Linked DNA regions of Homo sapiens: region 1 is linked to region 2. Evidence: promoter capture Hi-C in human tissues and cell types (Jung and others, 2019). All regions are on one chromosome and are shown on one strand. The core of a region is centred on a gene start or on the middle of the fragment in contact, and the rest is flanking DNA. Distances in the headings are between cores, read along the strand shown. Region 1 has its middle 42 kb from the start of KCNG1. Region 2 holds the start of KCNG1 (potassium voltage-gated channel modifier subfamily G member 1).

The links. Contacts are between HindIII fragments. The study calls those that stand out against the background at their distance.
Region 1: a contact is called between a fragment that was not itself captured here and the fragment with the promoter of KCNG1 in region 2, in 10 of the 25 tissues and cell types used here (H1 embryonic stem cells, IMR-90 fibroblasts, bladder and 7 more).

The regions. Positions count from the first base shown.
Region 1 is chr20:51,063,855-51,067,149 of GRCh38, reverse strand. No RefSeq gene overlaps it. Among named protein-coding and RNA genes, the nearest start is that of KCNG1, 42 kb to the right of the region's middle. The HindIII fragment of the contact is 5,903 bases long and covers 1-3,295 here.
Region 2 is chr20:51,021,809-51,025,190 of GRCh38, reverse strand. It overlaps KCNG1 (potassium voltage-gated channel modifier subfamily G member 1), which reads left to right and starts at 2,084. Exons shown (of 3, transcript NM_002237.4): 1 at 2,084-2,321. RefSeq lists a silencer at 1,986-2,155. The HindIII fragment of the contact is 10,697 bases long and covers 1-3,382 here.

The sequences.
Region 1 (3,295 bases), core at 339-2,838, 42 kb before region 2:
TGTTAAAAATGAACAGAAAATACAAAAAATACAAAAATTATCCAGGCGTGGTAGCACATGCCTGTACTCCCACCTACTCAGGAGGCTCAGGTGGGAGGATTGCTTGAGCTTGGGAGGCAGAGGTTGCAGTGAGCCAAGATCGGGCCACTGCACTTCAGCCTAGGTGTCAGAGAGAAACCCTGTCTCAAAAAAAGAAAAAAAGAAAAAACAGAACCTCAGAAACTTGCAGGACAATATTAACAGGACTAAGAAGATCATTCGGGTAGCAAAGGGTCAAAAAACCTGGAACCAGGAGAATGAAACTCATAGCAATGTGGGCAGAATGGCCAGGATGTTAGCCATGAATCTGTGGAAAGAAAAACCTCACATTCAAGAAATATTACGAAAAAGAAAACATCAGATCTTGGTAATTAGTTGACTATAGGCATGCAAAAGAAAGAAATCTCAAAACTGACTCCAGAGTTTCGAAACTACAAAACCATGAATTAAAATGACGGATTATGACTACATTAACAAAGTTAAGCAAACTCAGAAGACAAGTAGAAAACAGGAGAAAGTATTTGCAATTAATTTTCTAGCTAATAATATATTACACATAGATAAAGAGAGTGAGCGGGATGCATCTGTATCTATATGTATACTTACATATAGATACAGGCTAATCTCTCTACTTTATAAAAAACCCTCAAAAATAGAGGCGAGAGGCTGGGCGCAGTGGCTCACGTCTGTAATCCCAGCACTTTGGGAGGCCAAGGTGGGCAGATTGCCTGAGGTCAGGAGTTCGAGACCAGTCGAGCCAACATGGTGAAACCCTGTCTCTACTAAAAATACAAAAACAATTAGCTGGGCATGGTGGCATGCGCCTGTAATCCCAGCTACTTGGGAGGCTGAGGCAGGGGAATTGCTTGAACCAGGGAGGTGGAGGTTGCAGTGAGCCAAGATTGTGCCACTGCACTCCAGCCTGGACAGCAGAGTGAGACTCCATCTCCAAAAAAAAAAAAAAAAAATAGAGGGGGGAAAAGACCAAAAACATATTAGAAAAATTGATAAATGGTACTTAAACATAGGAAAGATGCTGAACATCATTCATAAGAAAAGAAATGAAAATTAAAACTACCTGGATATGAACTACTATTTGACCCAGGAATCCCATTACTGAGTATATACTCAAAGGAGTATAAATCATTCTACCATAAAGACACATGCACACGAATGTTCACTGCAGCACTATTCACAAAGCAAAGACGTGGAAGCAACCTAAATGCCCACCAATGACAGATTGAATAAAGAAAACGTGGTACATATACACCATGGAATACTATGCAGCCATAAAAAAGAACGAGATCATATCTTTTCCAGGAACATGAATGAAGCTGGAGGCCATTAGCTTTAGCAAACTAACACAAGAACAGAAAACCAATACCACTTGTTCTCACTTGTAAGTGGGAGCTGAATGGTAAGAACTTATGAACACAAAAAAAGAAAACAGCAGACACTGGGGTTTACTGGAGGGTGGAGGGTGGGAGGAGGGAGAGGATTAGAAAAAATAACTATTGGGTACTAGGCTTAGTACTGGGGTGATGAAATAATCTGTACAACAAACCCTCGTGATGTGACATGAGCTCACCTATGTAACAAACCTTTACATGTACCCCTGAACACAAATGTTTAAAAAAAAACTACCCTGATATATCATTTCTCCTTTATCATATTGGCAAATTCAAAAGCTTGCCACTGGCCAGGCACGGTGGCTCATGCCTATAATCCCAGCAATTTAGAAGCTGAAGCGGGCGGATCATTTGAGGTCAGGAGTTCAAGACCAGCCTGACCAACATGCTGAAACCCTTTCTTTACTAAAAATACAAAAAAATTAGCCGGGTGTGGTGGCACATGCCTGTAGTCCCAGCTACTTAGGAGGCTGAGGCAGGAGAATCATTTGATCCTGGGAGGCGGAGGTTGTAGTGAGCCGAGATCATGCCATTGCACACCAGCCTGAGGGACAGAGTGAGACTCCATGTCAAAAAAAAAAAAAAAAAAAAAAAAAAGAAGCTTACCACCCAACTCTGCTGACCAGGCAGTGGGGAAAAAGACTCTTCACACATTGTTGGTAGGAGTGCATAATGGGTTAATCCCTAAGGAGGGAAATTTGGCCAGATCTATCAAAATCACATACGTATTTACTCTTTGACCCACCAATCCAACTTTTAGCAGATTATCCTGCATATCAATTGCTAAACAATTATGAAAAAAGGATATACACAGATTATTCATTGCAGCAGCATTGATAATAACAAAAGACAGGAAGCAATCTAAATGTCCATCCGTGACAGACTGATTGAATGAAATATGGTACCTCCACACCAGAAACTAATGAAATTATTTGCTATAGTGTATGGATAAGAATAGGGTGAAAGGGAAAAAGATGGGAGGGAGACTTCTCCAAGCATATTTTTATGTAGTTTTGCTTTTGAACCATGTAAATTATATCAAAAGGGGTAGAAAGAAGCTATTCCTAGAATTGAATGCAAGCAGAAACAAATAATTCTAACAGTACAGCAAATATAAATAATGTACTCCACAGGGAAAATAATTGATTCAAGTAACTAAAGCTTACTTCTAGATCTTTGGGGTGGAGAACTAGGTGGAGGACACACCAAGATAATGGTAAGGAATGTGTGTGTGTGTGTATATGCATATAAAAAAACCTATATATATACCTTTATATATATACACACGTATAGTTGCTAAACTTGATTTAGTAGATTTATTGTTGATAGTGGTAACAGTACAGTAATTCTGGAAGTATCTTGTGTGTTGCATGATAGAACAAATGAGTCAATATACTAATTTTACTAAAACGAGGATTTCCACTGTGGGTGAATGAAGATATAAATATGGAATGGGGGAGATGGGCAAGAATTACCCAATCTGAAGAATGAAGGGGAAAAAAATGATTCTTAGAAAATGAACAGAAACTCTGGCTGGGCGCGGTGGCTCACGCCTGTAATCCCAGCACTTTGGGAGGCCGAGGCGGGTGGATCACAAGGTCAGGAGATCGAGACCATCCTGGCTAACACGGTGAAACCCCGTCTCTACTAAAAAATACAAAAAAAAATTAGCCGGGCATGGTGGCGGGCACCTGTAATCCCAGCTACTCAGGAGGCTGAGGCAAGAGAATGGCATGAACCCAGGAGGCGGAGCTTGCAGTGAGCCAAGATCGTGCCACTGCACTCCAGCCTGGGTGACAGAGCGAGATTCCGTCTCAAAAAAAAAAAAAAAGAAAAAAGAAAATGAA
Region 2 (3,382 bases), core at 835-3,334:
GAGATCACACCACTGCACTCCAGCCTGGGAGACACAGAGAGACTATGTCTCAAAAAAAAAAAAAAAAAAAAAAATTTCAGATGGGAAAGGAAGGCAGAAGCCTGATCCACCACAAGAGGAGTGTTTCTCAATATGTAATCCAGGGACCCTCTGACAACAAAAGCCCACCCCACCCCACTCAGGCCCCTCCCCCACACTGCTGGTTGGTCTCTTTGATGTTTCTCAGACATGCCTCCTTCTCTCCTGCTTGAAGGCCAGTGCCTTTGATGTTCTGTCCACCTAGAAAGCTCTCTTCCCATCTTGCCAGATGGGCTCCTTCTGGCTCAGGGCTCCATGTAACCATCACCTCCACAGGAGCCCTCCCCCATTATTCTATCTAAAGTGGCCTCTCTGGCTTCATTCTGCAATCACGTATTTCAGCAGTTTCCCAATTCTGCCAAGCCCCCAGTAGAAGGTGAGCTCTTGGAAACAGGTCCTTAGGCAGATCCTTGTCTGTCCAGGCCTCCACCTCACCAGTAAGCCAGTGTTTTTATTCTTGTTGTTTTAGAGGCTGGATCTCGCTCAGTCACGCAGGCTGGATTGCAGTGGTGCCATCATAGTGCACTATAACCTGGAACTCCTATGCTCCACCCGGCTGGGACTGCCGCGCAGGCTAGTGTGCCCTGCGCTCATTTCTTAGGGTTAACCCTAACCCACTTAATGAGCACCCACGACTCCCCAACCCGAGCCCCACTCAAGCAGAAGGCCTCAGGCTGGTCGGCAGCAGGGTTTCTTCATGTCCTTTCTTGGTTCTCTGATGATAGGCAAAGGCAGTAGAGACAGAAAGGAAAAGAGGAACGGAGTGCAAGAGACAGAAAGGAGAAGAGGAACGGAGTGCAAGAGACAGAAAGGAGAAGAGGAACGGAGTGCAAGGCAAGCCACCCTAAGAGGCCAGCCCTGCCAGCAGCACAGATCCCTCCAAACCAATAGGTCCCTCCAACTCAGTAGATTCCTCCAACCCAATAGATCCCTCCAACCCAACCTCCAGCATCTGTGCAGCATCCTACCAACTCCGAGGCTAGGCGGCCACACTGGGAGCAAGACCCCAGGACCTGGTCCAAGTGCCCTGCACCGGCCAGGGGAGTGGACGACGAAGTGCGGCTCTGCTAGCCCGGGAGGGCTCTGGGGCCTCGGCCCCGCGGGACTGGAAGGGAAAACACCTGGCACGGTACGTACTGGCCCTAGGAATTTGGCACAGCAAGATGCTGGCAGTCCCTGGGTGGCGGTGGCAGGAAGGGCCCAAGGGCAACATTGGTCTAGGAGGTCGAGAAAAGGCGCGCGATATATGGCCCCCAGGATGTGGAAGCTTGCTTGGAGCGTTCGGCTCCAGGGCAGCAGCGCGTGGAGGGCCTCAAGGATGCAGTATTTGCCCGGGGTAGGGGGGCGAGGGACCCAGAGGCAGCAGTGCACTTGGACTTCCAGGACTTCCAGGGAAAGGCAGGAGACATGGCGCATGTGGTTCCCAGGATGTGTAAGCGCGTGGAGCGCGGCCCCGGGGCAGCGGAGAGTGGGGTTTTAATATCTAGCACATGTAGACCCTGGGGCGGTGCTGCTAGGGGCGCGGACCCGGGACCACCGGAGCACTTGCACCGCGGGGAAAGCTGACAGGGCGCGCGACCCTAGGAGGCTGCCGCGCCGCCTGGTGCGTGAAGCTCCAGGGCAGCGGAGCGCGGGGACCTTGAAGGCTGTCGCGTGCAGGCGAAGGGGCCGCAGGGTGGTCGCTCCTGGGAGAGCAGACGGGGAAGAAGGCAACGGGAGGGAGGGCGTAGCGCGAGCAGTCCCGGACGCGGGCTCAGGAACTGGCCGCGAGGAGCGCAATCCAGCAGGCGCGCCAGGGCCCCCGGATCCAAGGTGCGGGGTCCCGATTGGGCGCCTGGACGCCCCGTGACGGTGGCGCCGCTGCCACTGTCCCGAAGCGAGGCGAGGCCAGGCGCTGCGCTTTCGGCTGCCCGCCCCTTCTCCCCGCCCCGCGCTCAGTCCCCTCCCTCCGTCCCGCCTCCTGCCTCGCTCCCTCCCTCGGCGGCTGCTGCGCCGCGCTCCCGGCGCACTCGGAGCCCGGCGGGGACCGGGAGGCAGAGACGGGGCGGCCGTGGCTCCGAGGGCGGGAGCTGAGCCGGGCCCCGGGACCGAAGTTTGGCGGCGGCTCCGGGAGGCAGAGCGGGCTCCCCGGGCGACTTCCAGGCCCCTCTCGCGTCCTCGCCCCGGACCCGTGGGCAGCCGGGGGGAACGGAAGCCGCGGCCGGGCCAACTCCGAGGCGGGGACGCCGCGACGGGAACTTGAGGTGGGAACTTTGCGCGCTGCAGCCTCGCCGGGCGCCACCGAAGCGCGAACCGGACCCCGAGCCTGCAAACTCGGGCTCGGGGGCGGCTGCACGTGGCCGTGGCCCTGAACTCCCTGCGGGGGCCTCGAAACCCGCCTGCGGGGAGGCCAGGGCGACAGAGGACTCGGGAGTCACCGCTGGTGCGTGGCGGCGTGGAGCGCGCTTGTTACGGCCAAGGTGCGGGTCCGGCTTCGGTTCATCCCAAGGGGTCACCGGGATGCGAAGTCCGGGACGTTCGCCGCCGCGGTGACCCCGGCGGGGGCGCATCCCGGCTGTGGGCCGAGGTTTCTCCCCCGATCCTGGGAGGAAGGAGAGTTAGGGATTGGGGTGGGGGAGTGTGTGTCACTTGCTCATTCACTGTATCCTTAGGCACAGTATGGAGCCCCCCTTCACCCCCACCGTGGGCCTGATTGAGTCATTCATTATGAACACAGCAAGCGTTTATTGAGCGCCTACTGTGTGCTAGGCACTGGGGATACTGAGACAGTTCACTGGGCACCCCCAGGAACTGGTAGGAAGGTGGTGGTCTCAGCCTTAGGGTTTCCATGTGGGAGAGAGGCTCAGCCCGGAGGTATGGAAGGAAAAGGGTGAAGTTCATTCATTCATTCATAGATTGGACAAAGATTGGTTGAGCACCTATTGTAAGCAGCTCATCATACCAAGCGCTCAACAGTCATTCATCCAGTTCACAAACATTTATGGAGGCGCTATGCTGGGGAGAAGTGAAGAGGGATGGAATGGGGGCACCCTTCATGCAGCTTAGAGAGAAGTAAGGATTAAGACCCAGGCCCCCGCTTGGGAGGCCGCAGACTGCCGGGGTGGCCAACTGTAGCAGCCCATGTATATAGGCAGAAGTCTTGGTTCATCTAATGCATTCCTTCTCAAGGTGGGAGGTGTGGAAGCTGGAATTGGTTCTAGAATAGGAAGAAAAGATCTTTTCAAAGCTCCTTAGGGGCGGGTGATGGGGTAGGGTGGGGAGGAGTTGAGAAACACTGATCCGACATTACTGAGGAATGCAGGTT